Regions from separate parts of the Homo sapiens genome. Here region 1 is linked to region 2. The links are contacts of gene promoters, found by promoter capture Hi-C in human tissues and cell types (Jung and others, 2019). All regions are on one chromosome and are shown on one strand. Each heading gives the region's core, a stretch centred on a gene start or on the middle of the fragment in contact. The rest is flanking DNA. Distances are from core to core; before and after follow the strand shown.

Region 1 (6,279 bases), core at 1,631-4,130, 180 kb after region 2:
ATGCAGTTAAGATAAACTATGCAAATGACACATTTGATCTGCCACTCCAATAATTATTTAAAAAACACAGACAGGATCTCACTCTGTCACCTAGGCTAGAGTGCAGTGGCACAATCATGGCTCACTACAGCCTCCAACTCCTGGGCTTGAGTGATCCTCCCGCCTCAGTCTCTCAAGTTGCTAGAACCACAGTCTCATGCCACCATGCCGGGCTATTTTTTAAAAAATTTGCATAGAGACAGAGTCTCACTGTGTTGCCAAAGCTGGTCTCAAATTCCTGGCTTCAAAGGCCTTGGCCTCCCAAAGCCCTAGGATTGCAGGTGTGAGCCACTGCACCCAGCTCCAGTAATTCTAAAAATAAAAAATAAAAAATAAAAAAATAAAAAAAAATTATGGTGACTTTACACTTAGCAAACACATATGAGCATCAGTTTTAGAATTTCAGTTAATGTCAAGATTGGTAAACTTCAGTTTATGGAATCTTGTTTGAAAACCAGGACAGTTAATTTTCATGGCACTTTTTCATGGTGACTTAAAAATAATAGATATTAGTTCCAAGAACACTTCTTCACGTACTTTTGGTATTCTAAATTAGGTAACAAATTTGGACCTGAAATCTTAAAACAAATTTAAGTTACCTTCAGGCATTCTTATTTCTTCACCATCATATTCTTTTCCAGTTCAAACACCATTCTTCCCTATGAAGCAATTGGAGCTGAGATTTAATAGTTTTGCTTTTCTCTTGGTCATTTGTTCATATTATATAGTTGGCTCCAAGCAATCTTATTCTGATCCCATCCTTGGCTGTCATTTTCTTCTAAAAATACCACATAAATTTCTTTCTATTATTGCTGGCATTTTTACAAACGTCAGTCAACTCAGTATCAGTATCATTAGGTAATCATACTCTTCTTTCATGTTGTTTTTAAGTTTCGTTTCTTTTCAGATCTTTCTTTTTAAATATAATTCTCAAATACAAAGTTTTCAGAAACTTGCCTGTAAAACCATCCTGATAATTTGTAGAAGCCTTTGTGATCCTTTATCTAGATTGTGACAGAGCTTTAGAATGATATGGAATAATATATAAAATTTTCTTTTTAACTTGTTTCTTATAATCTAAAGCTGCACTATCCTTTATGGTAGTCACTAGCCTTATGTGGCCATTGAGCTATTGAAAAGGAATTATTCCAAGTTGAGATGTACTCTAAATATAATATACACATTGGATTTTGAATATATTTATATGGAAGCAATTAAATTTCTCAATAATAGTCTTTCATATTGATTATATGTTGAAGTGATAATATTTTGACATATTGGGCTACATATAATACAGTATTAAATTTAATTTAACTTGATTCTTCATTTTTTAATGTGGATGCTAGGAAATTTAAAATTTCCTGTGTGGTTCACATTATGTTTCTATGGGCAGCACTGATTATTTCCATAATATTTTTAATATCTTTAATATTTTTAAATAAGTGTATTAGTTTTCTATTGTAGCTATAACAAATTCCCACAAATTTAATGGCTAAAAACAACACAAATTTATTATCTTACAGTTTAGGATGTCAGAAACCTAAAATGATTGGCAAAGCCTGTGTTCTTTTTGGAAGTTCTAGAAAAAATTCCGTTTTCTTGCCTAGAGACCACCTGTTTTCCCTGGCTTGTAGCTCCTTCTTTCGTCTTCTAAGCTAAGAGTGTAGCATCTTCAAATCTACCTGACTCTCTCTTTCTCCCTCATCTCTGTTTCTGTTATCACATCTCTTACTCTTATTCTGACCCCTGAACCCTCTGCCTTCCTCTAATAAAAACCCTTGTGATTACTTGGTACCCATCTAGATAACCCAGAGTAATCTCTCCATCTCAAGATCCTCAATTTAATCACATTTGCAAAGTCTCTTTTGCCATATAAAGTGGCATATGCACAGATTCCAGGAATTAAGACATCTGTGGCGGGGGAGGGTGGTGGAGGGTATTATTCCAATTACCGTATTAAGTATATTTAATGCTATTCTTTCTTGATTTGTTAATTTCAATTTTTAAATTTTGCTTGTGGTCCAATATTTTAAGATCAACGAAACGGTAATACCAAAAAACAATCATAAGAAACATCGAGTCAGGTGTGGCATGGCACAACAGCTTCTCATCTGGGCGATGCTGCTGACCTCAACGTGATCTTAGTTAAGTCATTTATCTTCTTGTGCTTTTTTCTGTTTAGCAAAAGGAGTCTGTGAGTCTATGAAGGAACTTTAAAACTGCAGTTCTTTGGGCCACTGTTCAAATATACTGTAGTTGTTTTAATGATTAGTTTGAGTCCTTGTATGATGAATTTCAGCTATAAGATATATCTTCTAGCTTCACCAGACTTATGAATGATGAGGATGTGAATTGTGAGTTGGTTTAATGTATTACACATAAGCCAAGAATTATATTCTCATTCTATCAAATAATGAGTATACTTTCTGTTATCACATAAACCATCTATCCTCATAGTCTATTTTGTGATGTAACAAATCATGCTTTGAACTTTCTTCACATTGCCTTTTCTGCTTCATCTATGTAAACAACTATGTCTGAAATATTACCATGTCCTGCTTTCCTTCTCTCCCTTCCTCCTAGTACAATTTATAAATAAAGGGTCAAAATTTAATTGTTTTCTTTTGTAACAAATCCACCATTTGTTAGCTTGTTTATCACTAGGGAAGGTTTGGGAAACTTTTATAGAAGAGGACACAAGAAAAGGCTGAGAGTCATGAATTTTATGATGGTTGGAAGGTTGAACAATTTCTTATGCATTGAATGTAACATAGTTTTGTCATTCTGTTTAACTAAATCATTCTGCTTGTTTCTAGGTCATCAGAAATAATTTTATTCACATACAAGCAAAAACAAACTCTAAAACCAAACACACATGATCTTAGAAAAATATATCATCTTTGAAAAACTTGTGACATATTTTCTCAGTTTCTTGTAAGTAATCAAAGCTTAAAGGGACAGATTAATGTGTAGATAGATAGGTGATAGATGGATAGATAGACAGATATATAGACAGATAGATAGAGACAGAGAGACAAGAAGACAGAGAAATAACCATTCCTTTAGAAGATGTCATTTTAGGCCGGATGCGGTCGCTCACGCCTGTAATCCCAGCACTTTGGGAGGCTGAGGCAGGTGGATCACGAGGTCAGGAGATCAATACCATCCTGGCTAACATTGTGAAACCCTGCCTCTGCTAAAAATACAAAAAATTAGCTGGGCGTGGTGGCAGGCACCTGTAGTCCCAGCTACTCGGGAGGCTGAGGCAGGAGAATGGCATGAACCCGGGAGGCGGAGTTTGCAGTGAGCTGAGATCGCACCACTGCACTCCAGCCTGGGCGACAGGGCCAGACTCCGTCTCAAAAAAAAAAAAAAGAAGAAGAAGATGTAATTTTAAGGGTTCCTTTATTTAATATTTTGGAAATCATGGAACTAAATATTTTGGGACAGGTAGAAGATGCTCATTAAGTTGCTAATTGAACAATAATGAAAATTCAGGCTAGTGTTTACTTTTAATTATGTAATTAGCATAAAATCCTATCCAAAAAAAGAGTACCCAACTCTTGTCTGTGAAGTCAATGAGATGTCAATACCACTGGGATATAACTAAAAATTTCTCTTTCCATCTCGAACTATAGAACATTAATTTTCATGTGGTTTCCCATCCTATTAGGTCAAACTTTATAGTATATTCTGCTAATACTGGAAACATAGACTCAAATAAACTAATATTTTACAATAAGCATTAATAGATGATATTTAATAAGATGGTTTCCTGATTGTGTTTTTTCAGTACTTAAGAAACATCTAAGATAATTTTATACAATTTAACTCATTCTATACTACATTGCAATGTCAAAATCAATCATGGTACTATGGAATTAAAAGCCACCAAAATATCAAGAGAACCTGCTCTGAGGTTATTAGAGGGTCAGCGTAAATACTGCCTCACAAATGTACTTACATTCAAAAATGAAGAAAATATTCTGCAAAATAATGCATCATGCTATTATTAGCTAAAACATTTGAAATTGGAAATTTCTATATTTTTCAATTTTACCAATTAAATAAATGTATAAATTATAGATGTAAAAAAGACCTTTTTCTAAAAGAAAACAGAATCTTAATTATTAGCCTAATGGCACCATTATTTGAAAGTTTTTAACAAGTCAGAATTATTCAAGTCTGTTTTGAAAATCTGGATTTATTTCTGATTTAAACCCTTTTAAGAGTCCCTCTGTAAATATCTTTTAGCATCTCTAACCAACATTGATGAAAAAGCCCCATTTCAAAAGTGGCAGTCTCATGCTAAAATATCTAGTCTTGGGTAGTCGCAGTGGCTATGCCTGTAATCCCAGCACAGCCAAGGTGGGCAGATTGCTTGGGCTCGGAAGTTCAAGGCTAGCCTGGGCAACATAGTGAATCCTTGTCTCTAGAAAAAAATACAAAAATTAGCCTGATGTGATGGCATGGCGCCGGTATTCTCAGCTACTCAGGAGGCTGACATGGGAGGATCACCTGAGCCCGGGGAGTTTGAGGCCGCAGTGAGCCATGATCGTGCCTCTGCACTCCAGCCTGGGCAAGACAGTGAGACCAGGTCTCAAGATAAATAAACAAACAAACAAAATGTCTAGTCTTGATCATCACTTCCTTAGTTTCCATTACCAATCTCTATTCCATGAAATATAAAGATACATCTGGTATATTTAGCATCCAGGCAGGTGTGTTCTCCCAATACGTATCTGAAATATAGTCAGTACCAGTCAAGCATTTTAAGTAGTCTTTTCTAATTAAGCAGGATTGTGGGAGTAGATTCTTCCCCGTAGAAAGAACCTCTTTGTAAACAGTCACCTTTGCAGTAGTTAGAACTTACAATGTTGCACCACTTTTTATTTTTGTTTCTTTCATAATTCCCAATTGCCATTCATTTAGATTCAAGTCTTGAGCACTTAATATGAGGTTACATCAGGGGAGTTCTGAAGATGGTAGAGGATTTTTTTTTCTCCAGACTTGCTTTACAATTCTGTTTTATTTTATTTCTAGCTTCAGAATTTTTAAAATTATTTTTAAAAAATTGTTGTGGGTATATAGTAGGTATATATGTTTATGGGGTACATGAAATATTTCGGTTATTTCTTCTTTTTCAGACACTGAGCTGCTATCTTTCACAACATCCTAAAACGTTTATCACAAGCCAGAGCTGAATTGATTTGACCTGGTCATAAAAGATGTGCATTTATATGATTTTTCAAAAAAAACCCCACCTTTTCTCAAAATAACTCTTTTGTATTAAAAGCAACAATGAAATACTTACTCCTCTATTTGTTATGAAAACTATGCTGCTTCCTCACATGATCCATTTGGTATTAATCAATCCATCATTTTCTATTTGGTATAGAAACCAAAATAAGATATGTAATTCTAAGATGTTTTTTATCAGAGCTGAAATTTTAATAACACGGTTAAATTGGAATGCCCTATAGTGCTCAGGTTTACCAATCTTGGTCTTTTATTTCCATTATTATTATTCATACTAATTTTTACTTTCCTCCTGTATTGATTTCATTTTCTGAAGAAATTAGCAAGCCCATCTAATGAAGAGATTCTCTTCATTAGAGAATTTATTCTCTTCATATAGCAACTAGTTTTATTGTTTGATCTATTAAGTCAGTCATTTACTAATAATTTGTATCATGAAGGATACAAATATTAAGTATGTTTCTATCCTCTCTGTCAGTAAATCACCAGGGAGATAAATGAATTTGATTCACATTTTTATTCTCAAACACCTTTCCTCTATCCCTCCTTCTCCTTTCACTTCTCCTTTTACTCCTCTTTCTTCATTGACTACCTTACTCTGTGAACTCATTTTACACTTAAACATACTGAAAAATGAACCTTCAGTTCTATATTAATATCTAATACTTGTTCAGTATGGATGCTGAAATATTAATTGATAATAGTAATAGCCATTTGCACTCAACAAATAAATCATCAATAGGAAACTAAGGATTTGTGGTAGTTGGCTGTTTTAAAGTCAACTCTCCTATGATATACTTTGGATTATGCCCAGTATACAGGAGGTATTCAATAAGTGTTTGCTGAAAGAATGTCAGCCTCTCCAAATTTCAGAAATATAATGGTACATCTGCTTCTTCTCCCTTATCTTTCTATTATCAAAGGAAATTAAATTGGCATATCACTATTTCCTTATCACAAATCTGTTTTGGTTATTTCCAG
Region 2 (6,319 bases), core at 640-3,139:
GCTGTGCAATAAACCGGGCGGGGAGAGGGAGGCAGCGGAGGGAGTCCTGGCTCTGAGGGGGGCAGGATTGGGTCTGGAGGATGGTCTGGCTTGATTCAGACTCCTGCACCCGACAACGCCACGGAGTGAGGGGAGAGGGAGAGAGAGAAGGTGGCAGTGTGTGTGCGCGCGTGTACGTGTGTGTGTGCGTGTCTACAGGTAGCAGTGGCGGCGGCGGCGGCGGCGGCGGGGACCGGAGCAGGGGACGCATCTGCAGCCACCTCCCCGCCTATGATTTTCGGAGGCGATTGCTCACTTAGCTGAGGATCTGTAGCCCCGGGAGATCTTCTCATCCTCTCCATTTCCAAGCTTCATAGGTGTCTTCCAGTTTCAAGTGTGTGTTTTGGGTATTTTATTTTTAATTTTTTTCCTTCTCCCTCTAAATCTTCTCGGAAATTCTGCATATTGAAGCAGGTGGCTCCTGGTACGAAATCTCTGGATACATTTGGCTTGCCAAGTTTTGCTCTTCGCTGTCCCCTCCCGTTTACAGAAGCATCTGTGGTGCTTTTCATTTTGGATTTACATGCAGGAAACGTATATATGTTTATATACCGACCGCATAATATATAAATACATATACGCGTGCCCAAGGGCCTGGTTTTCGTCTCTCCTCCCCACGAAACGGAATGTTTTGGAGCCGATGGATAACAAGAACACTATTAACATTCTTTTGAGCCTGTTTTTTAAAAGGGGGAGGGAGCGTGAAGAATTGTTTAACATTTGGCCATCGTTTGGCTGCACACTAAGCACCACGAAGTATTTATGGTTGCAGATCAGGTGCAAACGGGGCTTAGAGAGAAAGGTAAGGGAGCTTCCTGCGTCCGCCGAGCTCCGGCGTTTACCTTAATCCCGGGGATTGCCGAGAACTTCCTATTCCCTGCCTCTCCTTCGCCTTCCCCACCTTCCACCCACCCTTCTCTGCTCTCTCTCTTCTGTAAACTCAACCCTTTTCCAATCCCATTGGGGTGGGGGTGGGGGGTGCTGGAGGTATAATCGTCTATTTGAGTTTAAATGCGTCTCTCTTTCCCAGGCTAGTAGCTGAGTTTTCCAATAGCCTTTCTGGCGGTTTTAGGAAATCGTGTCCTTTATAAAAAATAATGCTACCTAAATAAGTGTTTTAAACATCTGAAGATGCCAGTCCCTCACCCTATCCTCTGATGAAAATAAAAGCAATAAAAAATAATGAACTTTAATAAACTGGGTGGTTTTTTTTAAGCGTTGGGGTTCATGGAAGCTCCCAAACGCTTTTTTTCATTTAAAAAGAAAGATAACCAGCAAACAAACCAATCTCAGGAGGAGTCCACAGTGGAGGAGATTCGCCTTCCGTTTCTGCATAAAACCAATACATTTTACTTGGAGGGTAATTTGCCAGAGTTGAGCGAGACGAAGCCGTGTCTAAATAAGTACATGACACTAAATTTCCTTTTAAATCCACCTTTTACACCATGGCCAGTCGCTTGTTTAACTCCCGTTCAAGGGACACGGTTTTCAAACGTGACCTTTTGGGGAGATGTGGGAACTTCCCCTCATTTCTTCTTCTGTGCCGCTAACCTCTTTCCTCCTCCGCGCGGCATCTCCAGCCCCGGCAGTTTGTAAATTGCCCGTTTTGCCCACCCTCCTGGTGGGCGTTCTCTCCCCCACTCCACTCCTGCCCCCTCTGTCCTTTCTTCATTGGCGTCTTCGGAGCAGATGCATCTTCTTTCTTCTTGGCCTCACTCTCCCGTTCCCCCGTCAGTCCCCCCACCCGCGGCTCCCCACTTGCCCCAGCTCTCCTCGCCGCTCCTCCCCGCCTCCCCGCGGAGGGTTGACCCTTCAATTCGGAGTCCCGGCCTGTGGGCGGGCGGGGGAGCGCCGCGGCTGTAAGCCGAGGATCAGGCGGCGGCGCGGAGAGCGCGCCCGGGCGGCCAGCGCCGAGCGCGCGGAGCTGGCGTGGGGAGACACGGCAGGAAAGGCGAGTCGGAGTGGGTGATGAGAGGCCGGGAGAGCCCGTCCGAGCCGGAGAGACCGGAGAGAAGGGAGCGAGCGACTGTGCGGCGCTCACGCTGCCAGAGCCCGGGCGGAGTGCAGTCGCCTCCAAAGCCTTAGAGCGGCGCCCCAGTCACTGCAGCTCTTCACCCTAGAGCTGTGCCCTGGGACCACAGAGACCAAGAGCATGGAAATCGGCTGAGAGGTACAAAAGAAATAAGGAACAGATTACGAGAAAGCGGGGAGGGTTTCCTGGCGAAATACGGAGGCTGAGCAGATGGAGGAACAATGCCGCCTCCAGAAGAAAACCCTTGCCTGAACCCTCGGCGGAGCGCAGAGGAGCTGCTTTCAGCCTTCTGCTCTCCCCAGGCCCTCCGGCTAGTTCTGGGGTTGGTTCCGCCGGTTAGTTTGACAGGGATAAGAAAGTTGCTCTTCTTCCCCACAACGTTTCCTGAGAGGTGGTTTTCAGATCTGTGTGTTTCCAGTCAAGATGTCACTCCCTAGATCCCCCGCGTTGAGCAACTAATATATTATGCATTATTGGGCAATAAACTCTCCTGGGAAGAGAAGGTATTCCAAACATTTAAACCGTTCTCCACCGACTCCTGCCCGCCTCAACACAATGCCTTGTGAGTAGAAATGAAAAACCACCTGAATTTAAAATTATTTAGGTTGAGATTTTGCATTGGGAATAATTTCTTCCAGAGGAGGTTGTTAGTGTGTTATAGAGATGAGGGATATTACATGTCCAATATTTGATTCATTTGTGATAATTCTAAATCATGAACAGTTGGCCTCCACAAAGGTACTATTTCTTTTTGCATTTCCAGGGCCATAGTGATACATATAACACTTGGGAAACGTGAATTCGTATAGTTAACCCAGTATCTGTTACTCTGCATTTTTACAGGTAGTTAATATACTCATTTTCCCTCTTTTTATACTCAAACTCCGGTAGACTATTTTTGCTTAAGTCAATTGAGTTGTCATGCTGTACATGAAAATTACAGGGTCTTAATGCATTTCTCACCATTAATTGTGCTCAATTATTAATAGGATCATAGATATTAAAATGTCACTGAGAAAGGGTATGTGTACCTATGTTTGAGTGTAAAACCTATAAAATGTCTCAGCATTTCTATCAGCCATTGTAACCTAGCAGAACACAAGGTTTTTGAAATGAGCTCAGAAGCAAGGGCCATTCATATATTTAAAATATTAAATGTTAAATGCAAAAACATTAAATTTACTGTGCCTTTGGCAGAGAATGAATCTAAGTCTACTTGCACTGCAGAGTGATTGAGTGATTCACAGAGAAAGTGGAAGTTAATCATTACTCAGGCCTTCTGATTACATGGTTTGATTAAAAGAAGTAACTGTTTTCTGTAAGCCTGCTATTCTGCAGTTAGTCTTCCCAATCCTCTTAACATAAGCAGAAATTGAGGGAGTCAATCTTTCAGCAGATTCTACTAGAGTTCCAGTAGTGTGGAGTAAGAAAAGCTTCTTTAGTTCCCGTCCTTCCCATTGTCTCCCTTCTTCCACCCCCAAAGTACTTGCTGTCAATCTTTTCTTTATTCCCTCAGTATAGTTTTATTTTGTGAAATTTTCCACTTACATTTAGTAATAACATATTTTCAAATGTAAATGTTTGAATGGCTTTGAAGTTGAAGGTGAAATATACACTTAAAGAAGGTAGGCTGAGAACTCCATTGGTTTCATTTGCAGGGTGTTGGAAGGCCTGATGACCCTATGCATTCCTGGATGACTTTCTTGGATCACTCTCCAAAGTCTCTTCCAACTCTGAAATTCTTATATTTTATTCTGCTTTTACTATTTTCACATGGTTATCCAGTGCCAAGATCTACATATCCCTTCAAATTACATTAAACTAGCTGTTTCTGGTTTTCTTTATAGGATAATTAAGTAGCTAGAACTATAAAATACAGTTATAAATCTGAGATCTGAGTTTTTTATAAAATTTTTCACATACATTTTAATGCTATTGACAACTTTTTGTGAGACAATATTAATACAGATATAGCTTTGAGTGACGTATCTCTCTGGGTTTTCATGTATTGAAACAGTTTTTAACATAGTAATGGTTTATCTTGATAATTCTTTATTATTTTTACACAAAGGAGTTATTTCACAAATTACCTAACAAATACTAATTTGTAGTTTTTGTAAGCAAAACACAGTTAAAAGTAACAGTAGTATTAGAAACTGCAGCTGTGTAACATATACCTTTGCCACATTTTAAAGGCTTAGTTTTTGAAGTGAAGTTTGCAGTCGGTTTCCATCTTACTGGATTGTCAATAGGAAGATATGATTTTTCAGTTATGTTTTAATTATCTGTAAATGAAATCACCAAAGTCCAGTCTTCTAGACTTAATATTATTATTATTATTTCTGAAATATAGGTATGATCTTATTAACATTGGCCAGTGGCTCCTTATAGATTATTACATGCCAAAGTCCACAACCCTAATGCCACTCAATGCTTTTCACAATTCATTCTTAAACCTCCTTATGTAGATTAAAACACTGTCCTCCTGGCCCCCCTTCTGAATTCACTCTTTAGTCCATTCACAAGACTCTTAATTACTATTTTCCCCAACACTACATACCATTTTAGGATTTTGTGGTTTGCTTATGCTAATCTTTCTTCATTGATCCATTCCCTGCCCCTCTACCCCACCCCACCAAATATACACCAATGATAGGACAGAAAAACATTTTAGTTCCTTGGGTGGTCTTTCCTTCATCATGATGCTTCCTTCCTGTACCCTTACTCTGAGCTCCCACAACACAGTATTTATACTGGGAGTAGCCCACCTTTCACACTTCTAATGGTTGGCTTTCTCACTGCACAGTGAATTGCCAGAGATCAAAAGACATGCCTGATTTATCATGTCATTCGGAAATGATAGCTTACCTTTATGTCTGAACATAGAGTCTACCATAAATGAATAGTAAATGTATTATTTATAAATATATTTGGCTATGAAGTAACAGAAAACTTGGCTAACCGTGGATTAAGCAAATAAAGCTTTATTTATCTCACATAATAAAAAGTCAGGAGAAGAGAGTTGCTTAAGCATTTTATCAGGCTTCTTCTATTATCTCGAAACCTTTCTTCTCATGGGCACAAGGTCACTGATGTGCCTCCAAACTCGTGTCTGTCTTTGGGGCCCAAAATGGGGGAGAAGAAGATAACAGTATTCTACCTCAGGGTTTCTCAGCTTTGACACTGTTGTCATTGTGGGCTGGATAATTATTTGTCTTTGTTATGGGGGAGTGTACTGTACATTATAGGGATGTGTAGCATCATCCTTGGCCTCTATCCACCAGATGCTGGTAGTGCACCCCACCCCCACCTCATCATGACTATCCAAGTATCTCCAGACATTGCCAAATGTCTCTAAGAGGTCAGATTGTCCCAGGCTCAGAAGTTTTGCTCTGAGATCAGAAGGAAGGAAATTCTCTGTTTCCTACTCTTCCCTACCCCTGTTTTTTTTTGTTTTGTTTTGTTTTTTGTTTTTTTCCCTGCATTATGGTGGTGGCGAGGATCTTTTTGATTTTTTGCTTAATAAGTGGTAGAGGACACATGATAAGATTTAAAAAACAAATAAGAAGAAGGAAGAGGAGGGAAAGAGGCCAAACAAGGCTTCTCTGAGCATTGTGTCTTTTTTTATGGTGTGAACATTCTCCCCATAGACTTCCATTCTCGTATCACTGCCAGACTCTGTCAGCTGGCTACTTCTAGGTAACTGAGAGGTTGGAAGATAGATTTTTAGGGTGACATTTTACTACCCTCAACAAAATCAGAATCTACAAGAAAAGAAGGGGAAATGGATTTGGTTTTGAAAACTTAGTGTTTGCCGTGATGGCAGAGTGAATCAATACATAAAATTCGTCTAAATACTTCAGAAAGGAGAAAGAGTAAACACAAAATAAACATCCATCAAAGAGGGTCGATATAATTTTTCCACATGCTAAATGTTAATAAAGTAACCAGGATAATACTGTGATATTTTTCCTTTTGATGATATTTTACTTAGAAAATAAATGGGCAGAATGGAAACATATAGCGCTTCATAACATTTTTCTCTGCAGACGACATCCCTTCTCTTCCAGTCTATTGAATAAAGCAATAGACTTTGCTATTGATACTTACCAATTATTTAGTAATCATGTGAGAGATGTCAAAGGAAATAAAAATGCAGCTCTATTGTTTCAATATTTCTTTCTAATGCTTGTATTTAGAAAGATAACACATGCTAGTGAATGCAGTAGGTAAAATAATGGATTCTGG

Evidence for each region. Contacts are between HindIII fragments. The study calls those that stand out against the background at their distance.
Region 1: a contact is called between a fragment that was not itself captured here and the fragment with the promoter of NLGN1 in region 2, in 1 of the 25 tissues and cell types used here (dorsolateral prefrontal cortex).

Annotation. Positions count from the first base shown.
Region 1 is chr3:173,574,836-173,581,114 of GRCh38, forward strand. The region is part of intron 1 of NLGN1 (neuroligin 1); the gene reads left to right. Among named protein-coding and RNA genes, the nearest start is that of NLGN1, 180 kb to the left of the region's middle. The HindIII fragment of the contact is 4,311 bases long and covers 726-5,036 here.
Region 2 is chr3:173,395,855-173,402,173 of GRCh38, forward strand. It overlaps NLGN1 (neuroligin 1), which reads left to right and starts at 1,890. Exons shown (of 7, transcript NM_001365925.2): 1 at 1,890-2,209. RefSeq lists an enhancer at 159-658. The HindIII fragment of the contact is 5,603 bases long and covers 1-4,278 here.